Linked DNA regions of Homo sapiens: regions 1, 3, 4 and 5 are each linked to region 2. The links are contacts of gene promoters, found by promoter capture Hi-C in blood cells and fetal thymus (Javierre and others, 2016). All regions are on one chromosome and are shown on one strand. Each heading gives the region's core, a stretch centred on a gene start or on the middle of the fragment in contact. The rest is flanking DNA. Distances are from core to core; before and after follow the strand shown. Region 1 has its middle 400 kb from the start of NBAS. Region 2 holds the start of NBAS (NBAS subunit of NRZ tethering complex). Region 3 overlaps NBAS (NBAS subunit of NRZ tethering complex). Region 4 overlaps NBAS (NBAS subunit of NRZ tethering complex). Region 5 has its middle 420 kb from the start of NBAS.

The links. Contacts are between HindIII fragments. The CHiCAGO score rates a contact against its expected background, and 5 or more counts as called.
Region 1: a fragment that was not itself captured here is called in contact with the fragment with the promoter of NBAS in region 2 in 1 of 17 cell types (fetal thymus); the score reaches 6.7 in fetal thymus.
Region 3: a fragment that was not itself captured here is called in contact with the fragment with the promoter of NBAS in region 2 in 2 of 17 cell types (endothelial precursors and erythroblasts); the score reaches 6.1 in endothelial precursors.
Region 4: a fragment that was not itself captured here is called in contact with the fragment with the promoter of NBAS in region 2 in 1 of 17 cell types (fetal thymus); the score reaches 5.2 in fetal thymus.
Region 5: a fragment that was not itself captured here is called in contact with the fragment with the promoter of NBAS in region 2 in 2 of 17 cell types (fetal thymus and total CD8 T cells); the score reaches 7.5 in fetal thymus.

The regions. Positions count from the first base shown.
Region 1 is chr2:15,159,773-15,162,972 of GRCh38, reverse strand. It overlaps a transcript of NBAS not described here. Among named protein-coding and RNA genes, the nearest start is that of NBAS, 400 kb to the left of the region's middle. The HindIII fragment of the contact is 7,970 bases long and covers 1-3,200 here.
Region 2 is chr2:15,559,961-15,562,832 of GRCh38, reverse strand. NBAS (NBAS subunit of NRZ tethering complex) reads left to right here and starts at 1,499. Exons shown (of 52, transcript NM_015909.4): 1 at 1,499-1,645. The coding sequence starts at 1,529. It overlaps LOC105373440 (a long non-coding RNA gene), which reads right to left and starts at 685. Exons shown (of 4, transcript XR_001739297.2): 1 at 650-685. RefSeq lists an enhancer at 1,300-1,709. The HindIII fragment of the contact is 4,253 bases long and covers 1,473-2,872 here.
Region 3 is chr2:15,240,339-15,243,478 of GRCh38, reverse strand. All of the region lies in intron 44 of NBAS (NBAS subunit of NRZ tethering complex), which reads left to right. Among named protein-coding and RNA genes, the nearest start is that of NBAS, 320 kb to the left of the region's middle. The HindIII fragment of the contact is 898 bases long and covers 1,017-1,914 here.
Region 4 is chr2:15,297,253-15,300,023 of GRCh38, reverse strand. All of the region lies in intron 40 of NBAS (NBAS subunit of NRZ tethering complex), which reads left to right. Among named protein-coding and RNA genes, the nearest start is that of NBAS, 260 kb to the left of the region's middle. The HindIII fragment of the contact is 724 bases long and covers 931-1,654 here.
Region 5 is chr2:15,143,002-15,146,180 of GRCh38, reverse strand. It overlaps a transcript of NBAS not described here. Among named protein-coding and RNA genes, the nearest start is that of NBAS, 420 kb to the left of the region's middle. The HindIII fragment of the contact is 231 bases long and covers 1,206-1,436 here.

The DNA of each region.
Region 1 (3,200 bases), core at 418-2,917, 400 kb after region 2:
ACTCATTATGATAAATGTAGCAGAAGAGCATTCAAATGCAAGTTTGCCCTGTTCTTTGGAGAGAGCCTGCATTTTTCTCCAGTTAGCTGCAAATGCAGCAGCTCAGTAGTCTAATTTAGCTCCAACAGCTGGGAATTCAGTATTTCTTCTTAATAACTTCAAACTCATTATAAACTGAAGATGGCACATACAATGAGAAAATAGGAAAATGAACTAATGGGTGTTCCAGAGCTTGAAAGGGAGAAAAGGAGGCTTCTTGTTTGAGTACCCATATTGTGGGTTTTCTCCGCACCAGCAGCGGTAGATACGAGAAGGAAGGCTTGGTTTCCTTTTGTTCTAATGAATCCAGAGTTCTTAGACTTGCGACTACCACTGCAAACTGGAGAGCTTTGGTGTTGCAACCTGCTCACAGCTGTGAGACGGGAATCAGGCACATCAAACTATTGCTAGCAAAATGAAAAATAACTCTGACTTTGATGCTGGTGTTAGACTACTGGAGTGTGAGTTTCTGCTCCCCCGGTGGCTGTCAGAGTTGTGGAAAGCTGCCTCCAGGCGCAAGACGAAGATTTCCAAAACCAGCCTTCAGCAATGGTCAGGTGATGAGGGAGCTAGGATGTGTGGTTCAGATGACCTAGGGGGGTTCTGAAGCTGGGGGTATCCTGATGCTTCACTAGTGAAAGGGGAGGGAGCCACACTGGAATTTCTACTCGGCCATGGGTCAATCTTAGGCCGGCAGATGGGATGCGTGTTGTCTTGACAAACAACGCGCCTGTTGCGGAGGCAGGGCTGTTTGGAAGAAAACACTGGATTGGAGTCAGGGGTCTGGGTTTGAGAGCTGGCCTGGCTAATACGACTTTAAGCAACTTTATTTGGCTTTCTCTGTATCTGTTTTCTGTCCACACCTCTCTGCTGTTGTTAGGCTCAAACAACAATAGTGTCAGGAGGAGAGTAAGGGAACTTGAAGATAAGGGGAATGGCTGGAGGAGAGGAACACTGAGGGAAGGTAGACTATAGGTATTGACCATCTGCACGTAGTGTGGTCAGGAAGTAGACTCTAAAATCCTAAGGTGACATCCCTAATCTCCCTCTTGTGCTCTGTTTATCTCTTTTGACACTTGAATTTTCAAGGACTCCCTACTACACCTGAGCTGCTTGAGAGATCAGGACCCTTAGGGTTATGACTTTCTGGGAGGACAGCAACCACTTGGTTTGCAAATCAGGAGACTTAGGTGGATCTCCTAATGCCTGAGAAAAGCTGCCCTGGCTGGGTGGAGCTCAAGCCACTGCAAGTTCCCCCATCTGGATGCAGAGCTGCAGGCCCGGGGTGAAACAACCCAGGCTCAGGTGTGGAGGCCACCGTGTAGCCAGGACAGAAGTGCTTTGCAAACTTGGCCTGCTTCTCCCTTAGAAAAGGGGTGAACTTTCTCTTCTGGACACTTGAAGTTCTCCTCAGCAGTACTGGTTACTTAGCGTTCTCCATGCCACACTTGCTTCCTTCATCTCTCTTTTCCCAAGTTTGTCCTGTTACTTAAAACTTACTTTCTCCTAGGAGACAGGAAAAGACATCCTCCTGACATTTGGTCAATTTGATTTTAGCTCGTTTTTTTACATCACCTTTGCTTTAACCGGGAAACATTTTGCTCTTTGCTAGTACTAGCAATGAGATAAGGTGCACTATACTGAGCGCCTATATGTGTTCAAAGTCTCTCATAGACTTTAGCGGTTAGCCACGAACCACTCCAGCAAGGGAAACAGATAGTATCCCCCACTTATATATGAGAAAACCAATTGAGAGGGGTTAATAAACTTGCGTAAGTTGTCCCTAAGAGTGAGAGTCAGGATTTGAACTCACATCATTCTGATTCCAAAGCCCAACTTTTGCTCAACTCCACACTCCTTGAGAATTCAGGCTTTCTTCGACTATGCTAATAGTCTCCATGACCATGAACTTGGATAAAGGATTGACCACAGCCAGAGAGGCAGCATCCAGTTATCTCCTTGTATAGAATGGATAATCCACCCCATGTATCCAGGATCTGTTAGGCAAAAGAGTTCTCTGAACCCTTTCATGTTACCTTCTTACTGAAATAGAACTTTTATCATCCTCACCCTGAGAATGGATGTTCCTGTTTAGAAAAAGACTTCCTTATCCCAGCTGACCTCACCCAGTTGGTAGAAATTCCAGTTTCCCCCATACTTAAACAAACATCTGTCTGAGCTCAATCTGTGCGCCAAAATTTAATCCTTGCAAACTCTCCCTGGAAAGAAAATAGGAAGAGATTGGTCAATGGGGGATTCCCTTGTGGGGTGCAGGCAATCAGAGATTGTGGATTGAAGGGGCCCTGGGGGATCACCTGGTCCAGCCTCCTGCCCCCCCCCCTCCCCCCGCCCACACTGGGACTTCTTGCTCAGTTTCCTGGCAGGTCCTGCATTCTCTGCCAAGGTTGTCTCACAAAGCAGCTTGTTCCTGGTGCAGCAGCTTTAGTTGTCTGAAATCTCCTTCTTCTATGAGCCAAGATGTGTCTCCTCCCAGCCCCGGGGTGTCCCTTAAGCCTCCCTGCTGCGTCCACAGGTGTGTCCATGCGTAGGGATCTTGCTCAAGCATCTTTGAGCCTCTCTCTCTCATCGCCTGCCACCCCAGTATGTCGGCCAAGTCCTGTCTGTTTGAATGCCTTCTTAAGCTGCCCTGTCTACTACTGTGGAAAGAGTCCCTGAGACCCCGGTGTTCATCTGAACCTGGCATTTTCTACCTGGTCTCCTTACCTCTCGTCTCTCCACTCCAGGATCTCCTCCCTGCAATCACCAGAGCCATCTTTTTAAAGCAGAACTCCAACCTTGTCATCCCCAACTTAAAGCCCTTGAACGGCTCTCCATGATCCACAGGATAAGCTCCTTAGCATGATAATCAAAGCCTTTTACATCCTGTCTGGATTGGTGGCTGCTTTGTACATAACATGCAATATAGCTAATCTTCACAATAATCTTATTGCTAGATTTTTGAAATGCATCTTACAGAGCATTGTGAGGCTCACAGAGATGAAACAATATCCCCAAATTGCATAGCCAGTAGGTGGCAGAACTGAGACTTGAAGCCATGGTTTCTCAGACTAAAATCCCTACTGTTTCCATTGTTCCAAGCAGTGTGTGTGTGTGTGTGTGTGTGTGTGTGCACGCGTGTGTGTGTGTATGACTGGTAAAAA
Region 2 (2,872 bases), core at 250-2,749:
TGGCTGAAGGTAGTAGGGGGAGCAGGAAATGAGGTGTGAGATTTAGGGGAGCAGGCAGATGACGTAGGGCTTTGAGGTCATTAAACTTTGAGAGAAATGGGAGCTGGTTAGAGGCTTCCCAGCAGAGGCTTTTAATTGCATCACCGCCTAATGCATCTTGATGGATATCATGAATATAATTATCTCAAGGGATATTCAGTATTTGTGTTTCTTTTGATGTGAAACAGTGTAATACTTTGTACAGTATATATTCATTCATGTTACAGTAGGCTCTGCTTATAACTGTCCACAAAGAGGTATTTGTTGAATGAATGAATGAATGAACAAATGGGGTTGACCTTTTCGCTCCCTCCATGCGGGTTCTCAACCTATTATTTCAACTTTATTGCCCCTACACCCTTTCTCAACTTGGGTTCTATTCACCCGTCTTGTTGAGTACTAATTAGGAAAAAAAAAAAGGCAGGCTAGTGGGAGCAGGGAAAAACAAAGAGATAAGGCAAATTAGCTATACGTCTGTCTTTCTTCATGGTCCAAAACATATAAACAAAAGGAAGAAACAAATAAGCCATAGGTCTACTTTTCTTTATGGCCCAGGACATATGGCCCTTCTACCCAGATAACGTACTTAACTCACAAACTTCCTGCTTACCTTCAAATGCCTCAATTTCTGAAACACTTCAGCTGACAAAAAAAAAAAAAAAAAAAGAAAGAAAGAAAAAAAAAAAGCAAGTTAACTCCCTGCTACCTGGTGTTATCAATCACTCCAAGTTCCAGTCTATAAAATTCTCAACAAGCCTTTGTTTCCTAGCAATGAGCTCCTCCTCTGCTGAGTCGGCCCGCTGCTCCCTGGCAACGAACTTTCATACTTTCTTTAATCTGTCTTTCTTTATCTACCACTGTCTTGGTAAATTCTTTTACTCCCACACTGAGAAAGTCGTCACTCACTGGCGACACGTTGAAAGAGTTCTTTCAACTCTGTATTTCTGCCTCTGTCTCTGCTCATTCCATTTCCCGCTACTTGAAATGCTTCTCCAGTAGATTAAAATTCTGCCTATTGTTAAAGACGCAGGGACAAGCTCCACGTCCTCCAGGAAATCCCTGCAGACTCTGGCCTTCGTTGCCTTTTCTGAGCTCCTGTAGCATCCTTCCTCTGCTACCTTTCATTGGATAACTTTAGTTGTTTATTTTAAAACCACTGTTTGAACTCTCTCTACGTGTTAGGCAAAGAATATACAAATGAACATTAGCATTTCAGTGGGGTACCTTTACCATTTCTGTTTTATGGAAACTGAGTTATAAGAGAGGCTCAATGACTTGGCCGATCTCATGTAGATTAATGAACAAGGAGTGTATCAGGACCGGGACACAAGTCGTTCCCAAGACAAGCAATAGTCCCTGTCCTTCCTACTCATAAAAGGGTTAACCTAGCATTTCCTTGCCGTGAAACAAAAGCGGCCGCGGATAGAGAAGCTTGTCCTGTGAGGGATTCCGTAGAGACACTCCTCCGCTGCCTGAGTCCTCGGCGAACATGGCGGCCCCCGAGTCAGGGCCGGCTTTGAGTCCAGGCACTGCAGAGGGTGAGGAGGAGACGATTCTCTATGACTTGTTGGTCAACACCGAGTGGCCACCGGAGACTGAAGTACAGGTGAACCAGGCCCATCTACAGCAGCAGCCAGCTTGGCGCGGGCGCTTCGTGGGTAGAGCCACGTAGCAGGAGCCACGTAGGGGAGTGGAGACGGGTGGGTGGGGGACTAGGGCCGGTTGGCTTGTGCGGTCGCCTTGGCAACGGCACCTTGGGCTAGCGGGGGTCTAGGGCGGGGTGGGGTGGTGGTCCCTGAGATTCTTCCTGGGCTCAGAATTCGGTTGTTGGGGGCTGGAACTTCGTGCTCTGGGGAGCGTACGATCCCACTTTGGTTCTCAGTTTCGCTCTCTGTATTGGGAGGAGAGGGGATTGTTAGTGTCGCTCTCTGTATTAGGAGGGGAAGGCACAGCGCTGGACTCGAGGGTCCTTTCTCCTATCTGGACCCTCAGTGGTCCCTTCTCGCGGTCTGGCTAGGGCTAGTCTGGGCCGACGCTCAACTGCGATGGGAGAATTTTCCAGGACCTTACAGTCTGCAGCATCTGCCAGGCTGGTGCAGAGCGCAGAATCTGAGCCTTTACCCATACTGGGGGCTGGATCGCGCCAGGTCTTGTGTGTTTCAATAAAAGAGCATTTAATAAGGGTGTGCGTGTCCGTTCGTCTGTCTCGGTGTCACAGGTGCTGTGCTAGGTGCTAAGGATACAGAGATGAATATGTTTTCGTGGAGCTTCTCGTCTAGAGGGGAGACAGTCCCGTAAACGTTTTTCATAACCTAGCGTTTTATGCGCTATAGTTAGCGATGTGAGCAAAATGCCACGGAAGTGCAGAGTAAAGAGCTGCTGACTGGGATTGGGATCTCCGCTACAGAAGGGTTATAGAGGTTGATAATTTATGGACTGGATCTTGGGATTATCAGTTGTTTGGTAGTGAAGGCCTCCCGGGTCTGTGATGAAGAGTAGGAACCATGGATCCATGTTTATTTTATTTTATTTTTTATTATTATTATTTTTTGGATCCATGTTTATTTAACAGATATTTATTGAGTGCTTAACACGTGCCAGTTACTGTTTTAGACCCAGAGGAAGCAGCCAGATCGAAAAGAACCTTTATTAAAGATTATGTAGTCCAGCCCATGTGAGTTATCTTACATTTTTTCTGAGTGTTTCTTTGCTGGAGAAACGACTCATTTTTCAGCCCAAAGTTTGTATTTTTTTCCTCTGTAGCCTCCTTCCCACTGCAGTTTGTGCTTATCATGAATAATTTATTTTGTAGACGGGTAGAGATCTGCATATA
Region 3 (3,140 bases), core at 216-2,715, 320 kb after region 2:
AGTCTCTCATGCACCTAATCCGATAAAAGACTGCAAAGGGGCCTGTACCACAAAGTCACTTAAGGATCCAGGCTGATGGAAGCCCCATCATTTTGTATTGGCACCATCTGGGCCCCATGTTCTCCTTAATTGTTGTGGTTAAAAAAGGGAAACTGGATAGTGAGCCATGTGGGTTTTTTTATTGCCCGGCTCTGAAATGGTATATGTCACTTCTGCTCAGATTTCACTGGCTGGAACACAGCTCATCCTAACTACAAGGGAATTGACAAATGCAGTGGAAGAGTTGGAATGCTTGTGTTTGGTGAGCACCACTATCTCTGTCACACTGGGAGACAAGTTAGAACCGTTGCAGTGCTCTTTATGAGAGATGATGGTGGCTGGGAACTGAGTGGTGGCAGTGAAGGTGGTAGGAAGTGGTTAGAACCTAGATATATTTTGAAGCTTGACCCAATAAGATTTGCTGATGTCATCCATGATTCCTCAGTCCCTCCACCCCCTTCTCACTATATTATCTCCCATGATATATGTGGTTTCTTTGTAAGCCTGGTTCATGTTTTTATCTCATTTTTTACAGGTCTTGGAAAGTAGATGTTTAGTACCTATTTATTAACTGATGAAACGGTTTAGCCACTTATCTTTATTTCAAAAAATCCATTATTATTTTTCATAGCAACTACTAATTGCTGCAGGGAACAGTTAAAAATATCATCTTGGTTTGATATTATAGTAATGATATACATGAATGACATGTTAATGCTGTGGGCTTAAGAAAAGAATGTTAAGAATAATGGTACCGTGGGGCCACTAGATACAGTAAAGAAATTGCCATTTTTTTTACTCTGGTACATTTTTTTTTAATCATTTCTTTCTTTTACTTCTGTTCCTTCCATTATGGAACAGTTTAAAGAAAATAAATCTACTAGATGTAAATTCAGTGTTAAACATATATTTTTTAACCATACCCTGGAGTCTTTCAGCAATGAACCTGTTTTTACAAAGTATAGTAATAAAAAGCTTGAATTAAGTAAAACGCCTAGTCAAATAAAACACCTTACATATTTTTAATCATAATATCATTCTGCTTCTTAGAGGTTCTAGCTGGCTCAGGAAAATTAACTTAGGATTGCATTTATTTACACTCTGCCTTGTTCAGTGTCAGGTTACATAGTTATTTTGAAATATTTAGTTCTCTTGAAGGATTATTTTAAATAGAAAATTTTCTAATGACACTGTAGTGATGAAGTCAAACAATTTAAACTCTTGAAAAAGTTACACCTGTCTCTCATAACCTACAGCTAGTTTTCTGAAAGCATAGACTTCAGTGTGAGGGCTAGACTCAGTAATGCTGACGAGACAGTTTATACATACAAAGTAGGTGGGTTATGCACTTGGATGTTGGAGCAGAGGACTTGCCAGTGGAATGCTTGTAGAGGCTAGATTGACTCCAAGTGTCTCGATAATGAAACATGACTGGGAATTTGCCTTGCAAAAAAGAGGGAAAGGAGCATTTCCTTGAGACAAGACGGCAAGTAAAAGCACCAGGTAATGACAAAGAGTCAGTGTGGCTGTAGCTTAGGGTTCGAGTTACAATTATACCACGAAGCCAGAGACTTAGCTAGGGACCAGTTTGTGAAGGTTCTTGAGTTCCGTGCTGAGAAATTTGGGGAGCTTATTTAAAAAAAAGGTTTTTCTAAAAGGGAAACATGTGACAAATTTATTAGGAAGATGACAAACCAACGGGAGAGGATGGCACATGTATTTTATCCATTGGTCAAATTAAATGTCAGCATCTGTTTACTGAGCACTTACTATGGGCAAGGCACTGTGCTGACTGTTTTACATATTGTCTTAAGTTCTTAAAGTTGTGCAGCAGGGGTCATTTTTTTTCATTTTGTAGATGAAGAAACTAAAGCTTGAAGCACTTTGTCAAGTTTCCTAAAGTCACACCAGTAGTAAATATTAAACACAACTTTTCTGAATGTATTGTTCTTCCTGCTTACCATATATTCATTCCATGGTTGGTTGACAAAGGCGAGTCAAGACTTGGACAACAATGATCTCATCTGGACCTCTTTAAGAGAATAGGGACCCATTGTTTCATCCAGGACCCTACTTCCTGCCCATGTGAATTAGCTGCCTATCCCTATTCTGTAGCCAGTCTGTTTTTGAAACTCTTCCATATCACACAATAGGCTAGGAAGAGTGTATACATTTGGCTAGCTGATATAGCCAAGTAATTTCTGAAATTTATATTTCTTGGGGAAACAAATATGAATATAATAAAAGATTCACTCTGCTATAAACTCTTATTCAGTCTTGATTTTGTCATTCAGCATTCAACCAGCATGCACTCTCTAATAAACTTGGAGCCTGTGAAGATGCAGAAATCGTTGAGTGGAAGCTGTGTAATGTAAGGTGGCAGGGAGCACTGCACTTGGTAACCAAGTGTTCTGGATTCCAGTTTTTACTCTTCTCTTGTACACGATGACCCCTAACATGCCACTGAGCCTCCTGGAGCTCAGTCTCTTCATCTACATGTATGAAGGGAGGGGTGGTCTGTTGAACAAAACACAGATCTAGTATTTTGTACTTCTGAATCACAGGGAGGAGTTAACAGTTTATTTGTGGGCAAACACAGTAACATAATTAATACTTGTCAGTCAATGGTGGGCTCTGATTTTTTTAATGGCTTAGAGCCAGAAATCTGGTAAGAAGTGGGGACTACGGAACTTGTTTGAAAGCTGCATTTGCAGTGCATTTCCAATTTCATTGGAAATAGTACTTTCCTAAAGATCTCTTTTATCAATATTTATATAGGATTAGGAAAATGTCCCCTGTCAGCATTTTTTTTGTTTGTTTTTTGAGACGGAGTCTCACTTTGTCTCCCAGTCTGGAGTGCAGCGGTGCGATCTCGGCTCACTGCAGCCTCCGCCTGCCGGGTTCACGCCATTCTCCTGCCGCAGCCTCCTGAGTAGCTGGGACTACAGGCGCCCGCCACCACGCCCGGCTAATTTTTTTTTTTTTTTTTTTTTGTATTTTTAGTAGAGACGGGGTTTCACCATGTTAGCCCGGATTGTCTCGATCACCTGACCTCGTGATCCATCCATCTTGGCCTCCCAAAGTCCTGGGATGACAGGCGT
Region 4 (2,771 bases), core at 43-2,542, 260 kb after region 2:
TTAATTTTATGCATTGATGGTTAGCAAATGGTCAGTCTGAGAGAATTTTCTCTTCTAGTATTTGTTCTAATTAACTCATTTTTACGTTTTTAAAAAATACACATGTGACCCCAAAACTCAAGTGTTGAAAATAGTATATAATAATAAGTCAGTGTTTCCCATTTGTATCCATCCAGAGATAGTTGATGGCTGTACATACTTATATAACTATTTTTTAGACAGATGTAAGTAGGCTGTGCACATTGTTCTGTATCTTGATTTTTTTTCCCTCATATCTTACCTTTGTAATTGTTGTAAATGTATTTTGAAGTGTGATCTTTGCAGCATTCTTTTAAAAAAGTGTTCAGAAGGTAAAATCGGTTAAAAATGGAAACGTCCTTTAGTTTTATAGACTAGGGAAGCAAACTCAGCGGGGGATGACATTCAGAATTTTATGGTAGACTATTTCTAAAATGCGTTTTTTTAAGCTACTAATTGAAAATACTAAGTAGAAAATTATCTCAAGCAAAATAACAACCCTAAAGGGGAAACACACCACCTGTTTAAAACTTTCGAAATAATATTACCAAGAAATGTAGAGACTATTAAACCAGAATAGATTTATTACCTCTAGTAGTAAGCAGTAGATTAAGTCATTGAGCATTTTGTTGTCATGAATATTTATGCACATTTTGTTTTTACGGGGATTTGACCATATTCTTTAAAGAAATCATACTTTATTCACCTCCCTGAAGAACTGCATTGCCAAGTTTTGAGGGGAAAATCAAGTAATTTAACTCTTCACAATTTCCTTTTTAAATTATGAATGGCTTTTTATGCTGTTAGTTTTTGCAGCCTGTGCTATTTTGCCATATCACTTTGAATACTGAATATGGAAGATTTTGAAGCTGCCCAGAGAGCTCTTCATAAGCTTCCTAGAGGCTAAAAGCTTTCATACCCATGCGTCATGTCACTGAAGTCAGATGCTGGAAAGAGGGAGGGAAGTCTGAGTGTACTCTGAACACCAAGACTTCCGAGTGATTCTGGGTGTGAAGCTGGATGTAGAGCAACTCATGGAGACTTGCTCAGCAGTGTGGGGCAAGCGGGTGGGAAGCCAGGTGGCTTGAGTCACTCTCCAGCTGCAAGACTACAGCTCCGGATGCTTCAACTACAAATGGGCGTGTCTCTAAAACAAGAAACAGTGTTTCCCGTGCACATCCCCAGCTTGATAGGAGGGTCAAATGAAAATCACGTGAAAATGCTTTCGAAACTTTAATTGTTGTGTACTTGTGCAGTGAATAAATGAACGTATGAAATGCAGTGTTGGAATGAGTAGGAGATGCTTTGGAATATTTTGGGAGAAGTAGTGATAAGCTCAGGGGAAGAATTTTTACTCAAATTTAATTTGAATATCGGAAGTAATCATAACCAGTAAAATTTCTTGAGGAAGAGATAGAAAGTACCAGTGGCAATGATCAGAAAATAATTTGCATAGGGAGCTAGAACTTACAAATGCTCATTCATCCAGTTTCATTTAGTCTTTATGGGGATTCAGAAGAAATTGCTTCAGTTTTAGAAATGGAAAATTTACAGCTCAGAGGGAAAAACTAGTAATCCAGGTCATTGATGCCAACTCCTGTGTTTTTCCCCTGTAAGTAATTTTTTCTTAGAAGCTTTTGTGAGAAATTGTCTCCTCTCATTTTTGTAAGTTCTTCTCAGTATCATGTTTTATACAATAAATTGAAGTACTGAAAATTTTTTTATACACAAATATTTGATGAGCTATAAACTTGTATATACTTACAACCTGTTATCAAAAAATTAATAGAATTTCCCTAACCACCACCTTCTTACTTATTTCTCGTAGAGATGGGGTCTCACTATGTCACTCAGGCTGGTCCCAAACCCCTGGGCTCAAGCAGTCCTCCCACCTTGGCCTCCCAAAGTGCTGGGATTACATACAGGCACAAGCATCCGTGCCCAGCCTCACCACTTTATTAAGACAGAATTTTAAAAGGAAGTATATTTATTTCAGGGAGTTTAACAGAAAATGGTATTGTTGCTTGTGATTCTAAAACACCGTTATCATTAGAGAAGAAAAAGCAAGCGGCTCAAATAGAATATCCAGTTGAAAACCTAATGGGTGTTTATATTTACACACACACACAGACACACACACACAGACACAAGCACATATATATGGCATGAGAGGAGGAATATATGGAAAAATGTCTACCTGGAACAATACGGAATGACAGCATTAAATCTATCATTGAAAATCTGTCATTTGTAAAAGGACTCTAATGGCAAGTGTATTAGTTCACTCGCACACTGCTATAAAGAACTAACTGAGACTGGGTAATTTATGAAGAAAAGAGGTTTAATTGACTCATAGCTCCACAGGCTTAACAGGAAGCATGGCTGGGAGGCCTCAGAAAACTTGGCAATCATGGCAGAAGGCGATGGGGAAGCCAGCACATCTTACCATGGTGGAGCAGGAGAAAGAGAGCAAGGTGGGAAGTGCCACACACTTTTAAACAACCAGATGTCATGAGAACTCCATCACGAGAACAGCAAGGGGGGAAGTCTGCCCCCATGATTCAGTTACCTCCCACCAGGGCCTTTTTCAGCACATGGGGATTACAATTCGAGATGAGATTTGGGTGGGGACACAAAGCCAAGTTATAACAGCAAGTCTTACATGTAGTGGGAGCTGTGTCTACATTGGTCCAATCAAGAGCCTTGTATTTTTAAGAGATATCCCTCCCTACATACCGAATATAAAAGGATGG
Region 5 (3,179 bases), core at 72-2,571, 420 kb after region 2:
CATTTAAGTAACTTGCCTTGAGTCACACAGCTAGTGAGTGGCACAGTTGAGATTCATACCAGGCCAGCCAGCCCCTGACTTTGAGATCTTAACCATTGCTTTCTGTTGTTCCAAGGTGGCAAAGATGTTTCTCTGTTTTACTCATTCTCAACACTTAGAACAGTATCAAGTTCACGCTAGATACTCAATAGATATTTTTCCAATGAGAAATGGAAAAATGAATGAATGAAAGAGTGTTTTCTCCAACTCAGGGAGTCTCGAAGAAAGCATTCACCTTATGTTTAGATGGGTGGCTCTCAACTTCGAGCATGCATCAGAATCCTTCATAGAGCTTGTTATAACTCATGTTCTGGGCCCCCCACCCCAGAATTTCTGATCCAGTAGGTCAAGCCTGAGAATTCTCATTTCTAAAAGTTGCCAGGTGCTGCCGAGGCTACTGGTTGGTGTACCTCATTTTGAGAAGCTCCTGTTTGGAGTAAAATTCCATCATACTTTTGCAGCAGGAGTGGGAGCTGCAGTAAGAGGGCAGGAGCCAGTGACTCAGTGCCCAGTGGTCTGCCCAGTCCAGGCAGAGACAAGCCTGGGACTCAGATGCTCCTCTTCCTGCAGCCTCTAGGACCAGCAGCCAGTGCTGGTCTGAGTCTCACAGTGACCAGGTCTCAACTGGAACTCCAGGTTCAGAGTGAAGATTAAACCATAATAAAAGCTTTCCTTTATAAATCACCCACCATACACTAGGCATGAAGACACACACACACACACACACACACACACACACATACAAACAAACACATACATCTCAATGCATTTTTGCTGTAATGGCATATGTGTGGCCCTAAACATCCTTGGGTTCTTTAAGATTGCGTGTAAAAGCACAGGGCTTAGAGGAAAATAGTTAAAGCAAGCCACTCAAAATCTAGTAACCGCAAAGCTGACAAAACCAACTAAAAATGAGTAATGAAAACACCAGCAGAGTATGTAGAATGTCACTGGTATGTGTACCAGCAACACAAGCAGTCTATTCTTTGCCACCTTAAGCCATGGGATGTGTACGTCCTCTTTTGAGATTAGGTTGTGGAGACTGCTTTCTATCTAAATTAAAAATTGGATTGAGGGTGTGGCCGTCTTCATTAGCCCACTGTTTTACTACAGGAGGATTATCTCTACTCATAGCTACACCAAATAGCTTAACCTCATGGAAAGCTTAGTAGTTCTAGTAGCCTCTAAGCCAGCCACTTTGCAGTAAAGAAAGGCACTTCTGCAAATTGTCAGCTTTTACCTTAAGGCTTTATATATTGCTATGGCCTTCTCTTTAACTGTGAGAAAGTTGCCCTGCCCCATTCCTTCAAAACATGCATGTGCTAAAACCAGATCTCATAAACCAACGCAACCACCTGTATCGTAACATATGGGACTGTTTCTGAGTTGGCAAAGCTTGGATTTGAACCCAGAGCTGACTGCGAAGCCCATGCACTTTCTCCTCTATTCTGCTGCCTTTTTTTTAGAGGATAGATATGCAAAAACAAAGCCAGTGGATGTGTGCTGTAGTGATGTGTTCGATAAAAAGTGGCCAGCAATGTGGCCACTCAGAAGTACCTCTGCCTTGGATGGGAGCTGCTTGAGGGCCAGGATTGTGTAGCGACTCCTGTCTTCCCCAAAGGACCTAAAAAGTGCCTCACGCAGAGAAGTTGCTCAATACACATTTTATGAATGCAATTGTATCTGAATCAATAGTAATAAACACAAGCCAAACATAAAAGTCATTCTTTCAGGAAACAAACATTATATTTTATTTAATAGGCTGGGAGGTTGATGGGGATGGAGAACATATTTGACACTTTGGTCTGTGTCAGGCTTTCCTGGGTTGAGCCTGGAAATTACCTTGGTGCATATAGTTCAGGAAGGTTTGCCAAGGCAGCCATACTCGGGCTGTAGGAGCTGGGACACAGCCATGCTACACAATTTGTGGAATGCATGTTGTCTTTTGACACTGTGTGTGCATATGTGTTGGGGAGGGACCGTGGGTGGGCCCTGGGGGCCAGGCTGTGGAGTCACAACAATGTGACAAGGTGTATTAGTCAGGTTTCTCTAGAGGGACAGAACTAATGGGAGATATATATATATATATATATTTTTATATATAGGATAATATATATATATAGTATTAACTCACACAACCACAAGGTCCCACAAGGGGCTATCTGTGGTCTGAGGAGCAAGGAGAGCCCGTCCGAGTTCCAAAACTGAAGAACTTGAAGTCTGATGTTTGAGGGCAGGAAGCATTCAGCACAGGAGAAAGATGTAGGCTGGGAGGCTAGGCGAGTCTCCCTTTTCACATTTTTCTGCCTGCATATATTCTAGCCATGCTGGCAGCTGATTAGATGGTGCCCACTCAGATTAAGGGTAGGTCTACTTTTCCCAGCCCACTGACTCAAATGTTAATCTCTGTGGCAGCACCCTCACAGACACACCCAGGATCAATACTTTGTATCTTTCAATCCAATCAAGTTGACACTCATTATTAACCATCATACGAGGGGTGTGTGGAGGTTATGTAACCACCACTTGCAAACCTCCAAAGGGCTGCAGAGGGACACACGTGCTCTGTTTGGCTCTAAGGGCAGGACGAAGCCCGTGGGTGGAGAATTCATCCAGTCCATTCAGAGACCCATCTCACAGACATGCCCTTGTTTCTAAGTTGTTTGTGTTTGTTCTGAGTTTCATGTTCGACTGACTCTTCAGTGAAATCACAAGGGCCTCAGGATCAAAACTGCTCCGTCAACCAGTGTTGGATTTGCAGCGGCCCCTGCAACATGAAGGTGCTGAGGGTATGGGCTTCAGAGTCAGACAAACTCCAGGTGGATCTCAGCTCTGCAGACGCGGACTTGCTGCAGGACCACGGGCTCAATGAGCCTCTAATTCTTGTTTGTAAAAGAAGGATCGTAATCGATTTCACAGGGTTGTTTGTGAGCCTTAAGTGAGATAAAGAATTGTAGAAAGGGGCTGAGTACCTGGTCAAGCCCTGTAGGTGGCAAAAAGGGGTAAATGATAACAGTAGGCTTCCAGATCTTCTGATCTATTTGGGGTGACAAGACACGCTGAAAGCAGAAAATAACCAAGTACATATTTCAACGGGCTGATGAGTGAGTAGTCTAGAGAATACTGCACGGACCAGTTTG